Linked DNA regions of Homo sapiens: all the other regions are linked to region 3. The links are contacts of gene promoters, found by promoter capture Hi-C in human tissues and cell types (Jung and others, 2019). All regions are on one chromosome and are shown on one strand. The core of a region is centred on a gene start or on the middle of the fragment in contact, and the rest is flanking DNA. Distances in the headings are between cores, read along the strand shown.

Evidence for each region. The method cuts DNA at HindIII sites, captures the fragments that hold promoters and counts their contacts. A contact is called where the count stands out against the background at its distance.
Region 1: a contact is called between a fragment that was not itself captured here and the fragment with the promoter of RAB15 in region 3, in 1 of the 25 tissues and cell types used here (small bowel).
Region 2: a contact is called between a fragment that was not itself captured here and the fragment with the promoter of RAB15 in region 3, in 1 of the 25 tissues and cell types used here (dorsolateral prefrontal cortex).

The regions. Positions count from the first base shown.
Region 1 is chr14:65,921,034-65,925,511 of GRCh38, reverse strand. No RefSeq gene overlaps it. Among named protein-coding and RNA genes, the nearest start is that of LINC02290, 190 kb to the left of the region's middle. The HindIII fragment of the contact is 3,337 bases long and covers 1,109-4,445 here.
Region 2 is chr14:65,823,991-65,828,215 of GRCh38, reverse strand. No RefSeq gene overlaps it. Among named protein-coding and RNA genes, the nearest start is that of LINC02290, 290 kb to the left of the region's middle. The HindIII fragment of the contact is 4,796 bases long and covers 1-4,225 here.
Region 3 is chr14:64,970,441-64,974,449 of GRCh38, reverse strand. It overlaps RAB15 (RAB15, member RAS oncogene family), which reads left to right and starts at 2,114. Exons shown (of 7, transcript NM_001308154.2): 1 at 2,114-2,497. The coding sequence starts at 2,374. The region is part of intron 3 of CHURC1-FNTB (CHURC1-FNTB readthrough); the gene reads right to left. RefSeq lists a silencer at 1,952-2,321. The HindIII fragment of the contact is 7,421 bases long and covers 1-3,925 here.

The DNA of each region.
Region 1 (4,478 bases), core at 1,528-4,027, 950 kb before region 3:
ATGATAATTAGGCAAAAACAGGAGGTAAAGAAATAGCCAATCATCTGCTGCCCGAGAGCACAGTGGAAGGGACAAGGATCGGGATATAAACCCAGGCATTTGAGCTGGCAACGGCAACCCCCTTTGGGTCCCCTCCTCTTTTATGGGAGCTCTGTTTTCACTCTATTTCACGCTATTAAATCTTGCAACTGCACTCTTCTGGTCCATGTTTGTTACAGCTCGAGTTCACTCGCTGTCCACCACTGCTGTTTGCCACCATCACAGACCTGCCGCTGACTCCCAACCCTCCGGATCCGGCAGGGTGTCCGCTGTGCTCCTGATTCAGCGAGGTGCCCATTGCCGCTCCTGATAGGGCTAAAGGCTTGCTATTGTCCCTGCACGGCTAAGTGCCCGGGTCCATCCTAATCGAGCTGAACACTAGTCACTGGCTTCCACGGTTCTCTTCCGTGACCCACGGCTTCTAATAGAGCTATAACACTCACTGCATGGCCCAAGATTCCATTCCTTGGAATCCATGAGGCCAAGAACCCCAAGTCAGAGAACACAAGGCTTGCCACCATCTTGGAAGTGGCCCGCCACCATCTTGGAAGATGCTCGCCACCATCTTGGGAGCTCTGTGAGCAAGGACCCCCGGTAACACTATCAAAGGAAGTAGGTGGCTGGGTGCAGTGGCTCATGCCTATAATCCCAGCACTTTGGGAGGCTGAGGTGGGCGGATCACGAGGTCAGGAGATCGAGACCATCCTGGCTATCACGGTGAAACACCATCTCTATGAAAAACACAAAAAATTAGCCAGGCATGGTGGCGTGCACCTGTAGTCCCAGCTACTCGGGAGGCTGAAGCAGGAGAATCACTTGAATCCGGGAGGTGGAGTTTGCAGTGAGCCGAGATTGTGCCACTGCACTCCAGCCTGGGCGACAGAGCAAGACTCCGTCTCAAAAACAAAAACAAAAAAAAGTAGGTTAAAAAAAAAAAAAGGAAGTAGGTGTCAGATTCTCCTCTACAGTAATCCCCCTTATCCATGGCGTATATGTTCCAAGACCCCCATATCCTGGGGGTCTGAAGTGCCTAAGTTTTAGTCTGGATGACTGAAACCATGGATAGTATTGAAACCTATATATATATATTACGCACAAATTTCGTTTTCCTTTTTCACAATTTCAGATAGAATATTCATCCTTATTTAATATCTAAGCAACCTGAGCATATGATTTTTTAAATTTCCTTATAAGTCAAGAACTTTCACCTTTTCACTTAAAGTAGGCACTTCACAGCTTCTCTTTGGCATATCCGAATTGCCAGCATCATACCTCTTGCGCTTTGGGGCCATTATTAAGTAAAATAAGGGTGACTTGAACACAAGCTATACGATACCTTGACACTTGATCAGATAACAGCCAGCTCCTAAGTGATTCGTAGGAGGGGACATGCAGAGCATGGATGTGCTAGACAAAGAAATGATTCAATCCCAGGCAGGACAGAGAGGGAAAGTGGGAGATTTCATCACACTCTTGGAATGGCATGTAATTTAAAACTTATGAATTGTTTTTTTCTGGAATTTTTCATTTCATATTTTCAATGATTGACCAAAGGTAACTGAAACTTGGGAAAGTGAAACTGTGGATAAGGGGGGACTACTGTACCGTGAAACACACAAAGAGAAAAGGCACACCGAAATCACCACTTTTCCTACAATCCTTTCCTAATTTAAATTCTAATTAGATAAATCCAGAAGTAGGGGAGATTACAGAGGATGGGGACGAAGCTCCACCCTGGGAGAATAATCAGAGACGTTGTGAAGAAATGGGTAGGAGTAGAAGAGGAAGAACAGGATTTGACAGAAAGAATGCTCCTTTTTCTTGCATTGACCATCCCTTGAGAATCATCATGAGGTCCAGGAACGGTGTTGGGGGCACTGGAGACACGCTCAATGCTCTGTGCAAACAGGCCTTGAGTGGGCACTTTCCATACCTGGAGCCTGCTAAGATTTAGAAGGGTTAGTGGGGAAGGTTGGAGGGTGTCGGAAGGGTAGATCCCAGGTTGTTTGTTGCCTCGTTTTATATAATTAACCCACCGTAGGCCGGGCATGGTGGCTCATGCCTGTAATCCCAGCACTTTGGGAGGCCAAGGTGGGTGGATCACCTGAGGTCAGGAGTTCGAGACCAGCCTGACCAATATGGTGAAACCTGGTCTCTACTAAAAATATAAAAATTAGCCAGGTGTGGTGGCATGTGCCTGTAGCCCAGCTACTCAGGAGGTTGAGACAGGAGAATTGCTTGAACCCCAGAGGCGGAGTTTGAAGTGAGCTGAGATCGTGCCACTGCACTCAGCCTGGGCAACAGAGCAAGACTCCATCTCAAAAAAAAAAAAAAAAAAATTTAACCCACTGTAGTCTAGGCTGCGCTTTCAGGGCAGATTTAGCCCTTCACAGACAGAGTCACGGTGCTGTCCAATGACATTTGCATAATAAAGGAAATGTTCTCCAATTCTGTGGTAGCCACTAGCCACATGTGGCTACTGAGCATCTGAAATGTGACTAGTGCAACTAAGAAACTGAATTTTAAATTTTGCTTTAGTTAATTTAAGCTTAAATATCCACATGTGACTAGTGGCTACGATCGTGGATGGCAATGTGAATTAGGGTGTGGTGAGGTTACCAGTGGCATCATGAGAGCTTTAAGCTTTCTCCAGCCCACCGGAAGGAAGGTCAAGCTCATCAGGGGCACTACAGATATTCTTGGTAAAACTTATCTGAAACACATTGTTGAAAATTAAAGCTTCTGGACCTGCAACTCATGAAGAAATTCTACAATTCTTGTACTCTTTTTTTCTCTATCATTTGCTCCATCTCAGATTGCTAAAAAAAACAATGGGTTTGGAAAAGTATCCAAACATGGCCCTTAAACCCTTTGTGTGGGCATAGGCATAAGTATTATTTAATCTTTACCAGTAACACTATGAGATAGCTAGAATTCCCATTTTCCAGGTGAACAAACTAAGGTTCAGAGAGTTTTAAAAACTTGCCAGAAACGCTCAGCAGAAGAAAGGATTTTTACCCAGATCTATCTGATTTCATTACATCCTTAACCACACACATGAATGTTCCATAATTCAAGCCACAAATGTACTTTTCTCCTCCTGTTTCTTGCACACAAAGCATCTGGCCTCCAGATTGTTGTTTTTTTTTTCCCCATCTCTGTCATTACTGGCTTGATGTTAGAAATGCTAAGTAAAAGAAGTGCCTGGAACCACTGAATATTAATACCTGGCATTTGCACAGCGCTTTACAGTTTACAAAACATCCTGACATTTGTTATTTCATTTAATTCCCACTCCCGTCAACCATATGGGAAATTATTATCTCTTTTTAATGAAGTTGGGGGGGTGGTAACTCATAGAAACTAAGTGAGCCCCCAGTTAGACAGAAATGGACCCAGGGCTCAGACCCAGGCCTTCTGACTGGGAGACCTGGGCTGTGTCTCCTGCTCAAAGCTTTTGCCTCAGAGGCAGCAGATAGATGCAGACAGGCAATCTTAACCTTTCCGTGCCTTGAACTCCTATGACCACTTATAGAATAATGGTTTTTTTTGAGACAGTGTCTCACTCTGTTGCCCAGGCTGAAGTACAGTGGTGCAATCATGGCTCACTGCAGCCTCAACCTCCTGGGCCCAAGCCATCCTCCCACCTCAGCCTCCCTAGTAGCTGGGACTACAGGCACGTGCCACCATGCTCAGCTAATTTTTTTTTTTAATTTTTTGTGGAGACAAGGTCTCCCTATGTTGCCCAAGTTGGTCACAAACTCCTGGGCTCAAGCAATCCTCCCGCTTCAGCCTCCCACAGTGCTGGGATTACAAGCATGAGCCACCGCACACAGCCAGAGTAATGTTTTTAGATACACAAAGTCAAATACATAGGGTTTCAATGGAAACCAATTACACTGAAATTAAAAATATTTTTAATCAAATGTGTGAAATACTGTTACACATGTGCTTCTTTATTAACCCGATCTAGCAGCTGGTCTAATAACTTTTGCAGTTTCAAACCAGTGATCAGTGTAAATGATACTTGAAGGTATGTGCAACGATAGTAATGTCATGAAAATCTCTTCAGTTTCTGATAGTGAGAAAGACATAGGTACTGCTAATACTATTGTGGGGTTTTTTGCCCACATTTATAATAACAGAAAAATACTTAATTTCAGTTAAAGGCTAGTAAAGACATTTTTTCCCAAGTTCACAGAACCATTTAATTTTATCCATAGAATCCATAGGACCACCCACGTAGACCTCTCAGTCTAGAGGCTTCAAAAATCCTCAAGACTGAATCATATCTCCCTCCTCCATGACCAACGAAGAAATTTGAGATTGCTGGCTTGGATTAAGTAAGGAAAATTAGAAACATTTTGATGGCCATGACAGTCAACTTGGGAACTCTACTTCTAGTGCATTCTCACTACAGTGCCCTGGAGTCAATGAGT
Region 2 (4,225 bases), core at 798-3,297, 850 kb before region 3:
GGCTGGTTGGTGCTGTTCACCTTGTCCTCCTCTTTGCCATCCGCCCCTTGACCACCTTGAACTGCTTTGCCAGCTGCCTGCACTGATTCCCTTTCAGGAGATGGCTCAGCAACCAAAACGTGCAGTGTTTTGGTGCTGCCCTGCGCGCACAGCAGACGCTCTGTGGATGTCCGGTGTCTCAGCAGCCAGTGGGTTGCATGCCTGACATGTTATCTTCCGGCCGCCTCTGTTGCTGCTTCATAGTTTCTGATCTGCTTTGCCTGTTCCTTGTATTCTATGTTCAATCTTCCCTTTACCACAAGTTTTATCTTCTCCCAAAGAGGTGGGGGTCAGTGGGGGTCATCCTTTTCCCATTTCTATGGCAAAAATCCTGCTTGTGCAGTGAGAAAGTAGCTCCACCTCCAGGTCAGGCCCAGAGCATGTCTGACCAAGTGGAGCACCCACACCTCTGGACTCAGTGATTGGTTCACTTTGGGGGTGATGTGGGTGTCAGGGGAGGGAGGGGAATTTTCCTTCTGCTTTGTGGGAACTAAGAACCTTGCAAGCGCGAAGTTCCTCAGGTGGGGCGGGGTGCAACGTGGCAGATATTTACCATGTGCAGAGAAAGCCAGAGAGCCACCCTGGGAAGAAAACTAACACTGGGGAAGACAGACGGAGCAGAGGGTTGGAGAAAAAGTGGTGCAGGGGAGCGAAAAGTGGTTTCTTTCTACTCTTCTAGGTTCATCGGCTAGGCTATGAATTAAATTGACATAAGACAGCGTAACAGGAGAAAAGCCACGTTTAATTATATACATATGCATGGCAGTCCTGCAGAATAAACCTTGAAGACGGGCCAAGTGATTGAAGCTTATGCAGCATCCTGAGCTACAGAAAGGAATAGGGGCTTGGGGCTTTGGGGGGTGGTGGGGACACAAGTTATGGGAGCGTGAGGGGAGGAAATTTGTGCGAATAAAGGCTGTCTTGTTATGCAGATAAAAGTCTCTCCGGTAACAAATATTGTCTCAGGAGCAGAGGTGACAATCTGCCTGGGCTGGTGCCAACCTCTATTCTTCTTTCCTGTGAGCTGAGTTAATCTTCCCCAGTTGAGAAGATTCCCAGGAGGGGATTCATGACAATTGAGTTCCTTTCGGAGGATCCGTCTTTAGGCAGATAAAGGGGCTCAGAGAAAGTCTCTGCCTGCATCACTGTTTCCCAAGTCCCCTGACTTCAAAGTCATCAGCACACCACAGTGGCATATTTGGGGCTGGCATTTCCAGAACGCCTTCAGTGGGATCCTGAAGATATCGTCTGAGTGCTTGAATCAGGGAAACCTAAATTGAAGGCTTTCCTGAACATTTCTGTTCCTCAAGCCAATCCTTTATTTTTTATGCTTAAACTAATTGAAGACGGAATTTTGTCACTTGCAACTGCTGCCTCACTAATGTGTCTTCTGACCTAAATCTTGGAGTCATTTCTGTATTATTTAAGGTTCTTTCACTTGCAAGTAACAGCAACTCTATTCAAGTTAACTTATGCCAAAAAGGGGAGAGAATCCTAAGCTGCAAAGAAAGAATATGGGTGCAACTGGCCCTGGGGACGGTGGCACTGGGGCATTCTTTCTTAGGCAGCCACTCCTGCCTCTTCCCTTGGTCTGCACATCCTTAAAAGACTGCTTCCTTCGCTACCAGAGATCTGGACTTGCGCCCTTATAGACTCATGAAGAAAGCACAGTTTCGGGGAAGGACTCTGCCTTGCTTTGTGTCTGTCCCTGGACTCACCCCTGTGGCTGGGGAAGAGCAGCTGTGACTGGTCTCTTCTGGGTCACACATGCACCCAACAGGGAGGAAGGAGAGGTCTGTCGCCAGAAGAAGGTAAAGGAAAAAGTATAGGCAGTGGAAACAATACTCACCCCCAACTTCCTACCTCAGAGGTCCAGTGAAACTCCTCCCGAAAGCATCCCTGAAAAGCCCCATTCAGATTGCGGGCATCTGGTCATTTCATTCACCCGGCAATAAATCACCCTCGCAATTTGTGTCATTGAACTTTTTGGAGAATACTTTTGGAGTGTTAAAATAGGATTGACTTTCTATTGAAAGCTGTAAACATTTTTATTTGTAGCTTAATTTTTATCCTCGTGTTGTTTGACAGTTTCTCCTCAAGAGGGGAAGAAGCAGTAGGAGTCTGTTGGCAAAGCACTCCATATTGCTGAGCAGCAAGTAAACCAGCAAGCATGGCGCTTCCAGCTGCACACCGTCTCCTCTGAGACCCAGCTACAGCCATCCAACTGAATGACTTCTTGCCTTTTGGCCTTCAGAGTGCATGTGTGCCCGTGCGTGTGCACGGGTGTGCTTGGCATCATGTGTGCATCTCTAGACAATGAGGAGTGTGGAGGGACAGGTGAAGGATCAAGGCAGGAGGTACAGCCAACTCAAGAAATGAGGCAGGAGAACAATGCACAGTTCCCCTTCTCACTGTGCACGTTGACCTATTTGTCACAGGCTGAAAAGAGCTGGGAACATGGTGGAAGGCTCTTACTTGTAAATGTCGTTCAGACTTTTGAATGGATCTTTTAAGATCAGGAAATGGGATCCATAGTTTACAGGCTTTGTTAGCAGCCAATTTGTTCTACTTGATCCAGAGCATTTAGGCAACGCTACCAAAGAATCTCCTACCAATGAGTTGTGAGTGTTCTTGTCAATATTTTACACATTAACAAGGATCCTAGTTAGAATATGAAGTTAGACATGTTTCTTTCAAGGGAACACGTTACAATGACTGAGGGATAAATATAGATATATAGATATGTCTATATATTAAAGAAGGCAACATAGGACTAATTAAATATTATTTATAATCACTATATGATTTAATACATTAATCTATTAATAGTACCAAAATAAAATTTTAATCCTTCAAGTAATTTGCAATAATATTTAGTAATTGACAGCATTCCATGTAAAGCAGTAATTTTTTTAATGAATCATGTGTTAGTTAATTTAATAGGCCTTCTACCTTAAAAATAATTATGTTTGTAATTAAAACATTTCAATTAATTATAAGGGCTTCTTATGTGATTTAAGTCTATTAAAGACAATTTAATTACCAAACTTTGAATGTGTTATCATTCCAATCACAAAACGATTTTAAATACTTTTCTTAATATCCAGGTCTTTATATTAGTCATTTATTCCTGTTGATATAAAAAGCATCCTAATTTGGTCGTGATGACAGCTACTGATATCAAGAAATAGGGGGGTAATTTGAACAAATAATGGTGAACATGGTGGATAGTAGTCTGCATGCAGCCTTTCTGCGGGGCACACATGCAATAACTAAAGGTGGACACTAGAGGGAGGCAGACAGAGAGGGTGAGAAGGAAGAAAAAGTAGAGCTATACACGAGCTGGACTTGAATGAAGACTGTGTTTTGGTTTGACCCCTTTGATGCTCATTTTCTGGAGGCCATACCCAGAAACCTAATTAGAAATACGGTTCATGATTCACACACCATGAACTTACTTTATCCGGGAAGAGACCTGAGCAAGTCATGCTCACCTCTGAAGAAAGCAAGCTCATTGTAATTCTCCTTCTCCACACTGAATACCTGTGTAATACATTTCAGTTTTCAAAGTGATTTCATATACATTATCTTATTTTGGAGTCAATATGGTGTAGCAGAAAGAAAATTAGACTTGAGTCAGGGAATCTGAATTGTAGCCTGGTCTCTTTCACTACATGCCTGTGACCTTGGATGAGGTACTTAACCTGTCTGGCAGAAGCTTCCTCATAGGTAACATGCTGGTGTTAGAACAGATGATCTCTAAGGTCCCTTCAATTCCAAAACTCTGTGATTTTATGATGCAGCCCATATAAGAGAGACTGTGTGTGCATGTATGTGCACTTGGAATGTGTGTGCCTTGCCTTAAATGAGAATTATTTCAAATAAAACACTATTCTGGCTTCAGTGAAAGCATTTTCTCCTTCTGCCTTGGAGGGATAATGCAAACACAAGGGAAGTCCCAAGTAGTGAAACAGCCCCTCCGGGACCCAGCAAGTACCAAGATTGGGTTACAAAACTTAATGTGTATATGAAATGTTTCCATCAACTTATAAAATAAAAGTACAATAAAAGCAGTGGCTTTTTATTATTATTTAGATTTAAATCATCCCCTGCAGTGTTGAAAACCCAAGGGCAACCTTCCGAATTTAGCAGGATCTCAGAATGAAATGGAAATAGAATGTAGCAA
Region 3 (4,009 bases), core at 865-3,364:
ACTGCAAGCTCCGCCTCCCGGGTTCACGCCATTCTCCTGCCTCAGCCTCCCAAGTAGCTGGGACTACAGGCGCCCGCCACCACGCCGGGCTAATTTTTTGTATTTTTAGTAGAGACGGGGTTTCACCATGTTAGCCAGGATGGTCTCCTGACCTCGTGATCCGCCCGCCTCGGCCTCCCAAAGTGCTGGGATTACAGGCGTGAGCTACCGCGACGGCCTGTCCTTTCCATGCATTATCTTATTTCATCTTTCCAGCAATCCTGTAAGGTAGTCACTCTAAATATCCTATTTTGAGATGAGGAAACTGAGTCACAGGGGGGTTCAGTAATGTGCTCAAGATTGCACAGCTGGTGAGTGGTGACACTGGGACTGGAACCCAAGTGTGCCTTACTCCAGAGCCCTTGGCATGCACCTGAAACCCCATGTAAGCCCACTGTGGAGACGCGCACCTCGAAATAATGGAATCCACTACATCAGTTCCTTTAGCTTTCTGTGTAATCAGAGTAGCTAGCAGGCTCGGGATTTCGCCCCCCGGCTTTTTTTTTTTTTTTTTTTTGAGACAGAGTTTTGCTCTTGTTGCCCAGGCTGGAGTGCAATGGCGCAATCTCGGCTCACCGCAACCTTCGCCTCTCAGGTTCAAGCAATTCTCCTGCCTCAGCCTCCCGAGTAGCTGGGATTACAGGCACCGGCCACCACGCCCAGCTAATTTTTTTATATTTTTAGTAGAGATGGGGTTTCACCATGTTGGCCAGGCTGGTCTTGAACTTTTCCCCTCTTATTATAATTCAGACACTTAACCTGAAATATACCTTTTCAAATGAAGTAAATGGGCTTACCACTTTCCTTGACCTACTATTGAAAAATACATTCTCCATCCAATATTCAGCCTGAAAACAGGTATGTACATATATACTTTTCATTGCTTTTTTTTTTTTTTTTTTGAGACAAGGTCTCCCTCTGTTGCGCAGGCTGGAGTGCAGTGTCATGATCTCGGCTCACTGCAGCCTTCCCCTAATGGGTTCAAGCAATCCTCCCACCTCAGCCTCTCAAGCCTGGGATTACAGGCGAGCCACCGTGCCCAGCTAATTTTTTTTTATTTTTAGTAGAGACTGGGTTTCACTACATTGGCCAGGCTGGTCTCCAGCTCCTGACCTCAAAGTGATCTGCCCGCCTCAGCCTCCCAAAGTACTGGGATTACAGGCATGAGCCAACGCGCCTAGCCTTTCATTGCTTTTTAAAGACCTAATAGGCTAGACTTTGCTCTCCCTCAATACTCGTTGGTAGGGATAGGCAATTTTCTCAACTCCGGAGAGCATTCATTTGCCTCTCTCCGGTGCTAACACATTCAGTGGTAGGAAACTGGATCTTGAACAAGGGCCATTCATTCTTTGGTGCCACTGGCTATACCACAGAGAAATTTAGGGGTCTGAAACAATACATTGGTCACCTGGGCACCTATCCTAAGCACCTTAGAGGGAAAACGGAGACTTGCCCGCACACCTCTAAAGGATTTTGCACTTGGAGATGTTCTTATGGCCATCTATCTTTTCACCCTGGTGGAGGCCGTGAATAGGCATTTTCCCCATTTAAAGAAAAAATGGGGACGGGGGAGGGCCGTGACACAGTCACACAGGTAAGGGGCAGCCAGATGGCAGGGAGGGGGAATTCCACCCACACTCTCGGGGACTCATGGAGACGGGTGTTCGAATCCAGATCCTGCTCAAGGCCTTCCTACCTCGGGTGAGCCCAGCTGAGGTACCAGCCACTGGGGAGCCCGGCCAGATCCTGCAGATGCAGGGTGCCACGGCGGGCGGAATTACCGGCGCCAGACTTGGGGTGGGATATGGGGAGAAGTGGTGAGCCCGGAAAGCGGAGCACGGTAGAAGTGGGCTGGGTGGGGGCTCACCTCAACTCCCCCATTCGGAGCGTCCGCGGAAAAACGAAAACGTTCCCCCGCCCCGGGCAGGAAGGGGTTGGGAGGGGGGGCTGGCGCCCCGCCCCAGCGTCGCCTGCTCGATGGGGTCCCGCTCTCCTGCGCGCGCTCCCCGCCCCCTCTCTCCGGGGCGGCGGCGGCGGCGCAGGGGAAGGGGCGGGCAGGGGCCGCCGCCGGTTTCTCCTCCCACCGCCTCGCGCCAGCCCAGCCGAGCCGAGCCGAGCCGAGCGGGCGCCGCGCCGGGCTCCCGCCGCAGCCGCGCTTCCCGGCACCCAGCGAGCGAGTGGGCAGGCGGGCGGGCGAGGCAGCCGCGGGGGCCGGGCCCGGCGTCCTCCTCGCCGCCCGCAGCGTCCCCGGGCGGGCGCGGGCCGCGATGGCAGCGGCGGAGCAGGGCTGAGCCCGCTGCCCGCCCGCAGTTCCCGGCCCCGCTGGCCCCAGTCATGGCGAAGCAGTACGATGTGCTGTTCCGGCTGCTGCTGATCGGGGACTCCGGGGTGGGCAAGACCTGCCTGCTGTGCCGCTTCACCGACAACGAGTTCCACTCCTCGCACATCTCCACCATCGGTAAGGGGCGGTGGCCCGGGGCGCCCCTCCCTCCCCGCCCGCGGCCCCTTTCCCCGCCGCCCCCGTCCCCAGCTGGGGAGGAATTGCCAGCCCCTCCGGCTGGAGGCGGTGGCGCCGGAGGCCGGAGTCCGGGATAAATCTCGGGGTGAGCATAGGTTTTGGCAGGTGAGGGTGTCCCTGCTGCCTGCCGTCCGGACCAGGGGTGGGGTCTCCCGCCTCTTGCCGGGAAGCCTTCCGTCCCATCAAACCGAGAAACCGGGGGTGAGGGGAGCTGGTGTAGGCCTGGGTACCCCGAGCTGGGGTAGCAAGAATCGTAGCCGCTGGAATAACATCCCCACACCCCCAGGGGGAGGGGAAGTAAAGCTTCTGCTACGGAAAAGGGGGTCAGGGTGGAGACCGGAGTCACTGAGGCGCCCTTGGTTCTGTGGTGACCCAAGGTGGAGCCGGCGGGGGGCGAGGGGGGGAAGAGAGGACGTACGGAGGGGCCACAGGGATCGAGTTTCCAGGGCAGAGTTGGGAAGGTAAGCCGCAAGGTGGGACACCTGGGGGAGGACACAGATAGGGTGAGGAGCCCCTGCGCCTGGGAAGAGGAGACATCTGTTCTGAGGGAGGCTAAAGAGGATGGAGGAGTGTCAGGAATACCTGCCCAGACCAAGGGGTCAGAAGGCAGGCAGGACCCGCCTGAGGGCATCTCTCATCTGGCAGTGCTGGAGCCTGTGGTTAGAGGGACAAGACCCGGTGGCATCCCAGACAGCACTATGATGGGGTCACTTATTCTAGGAATGGGTCCATGGCCTCCCCTCTGAGACAGTCAGTCTCCCGCTTCTAGGCTGTGAGGGGCCCCCTCCCTGAGAAGTCTGAGTAGAGGGAATTTCATCCTCAGCTGCTACCCGGGTCAGCCCTGGAGTAGCCTCTGCATTGCCCAGGCCCCTGGAAACACCTGCTGGCTGGCTGGTCATCCATTTGGAATGCTCTCCTAGAAGTCCCTGCTGCCATCAGGGATGGGCACCAGCTCTCAGCTTCCTCTTGAGGATTCATGTCCACACCATCCCCCCTCCCCCCAACACACATTCCTTGCTGAGAGAGAAGTAGGAGCAGATAGATACAGCCAGGAGGAACAGAACCTTCTGGTTAAGAAGCCAGCTTTATTGTCCAAGAGACCTGAGACCTCACTGTGGGGCAAAGCAACCTTGAATATTGCCTAAACTTCTGAGCTTTATTTAGTTTCTCATCTGTAGAACGGGTATAATAATTGCACCTACCTGCCAAGTTGTTGTCAAGATTAAATGAGATAACGATTGTTAAGTGCTTAGCACAGCCAGACACATGGTGAAGCTCGATAAATGCTGATTGTTCTTACTGCTATTGCCATTATCATTGAGCTTTTAGGGTCTCCTCTCTTTGTTTCACCAACTTGAAGGGTGAAACAACAGGACTTAGGGTCAGGGAACAGAACTTGTCCGTCTTTCTCAGAGGAGCTGTAAGGCCAACTCTTAGGAAACCCAGGAGCTT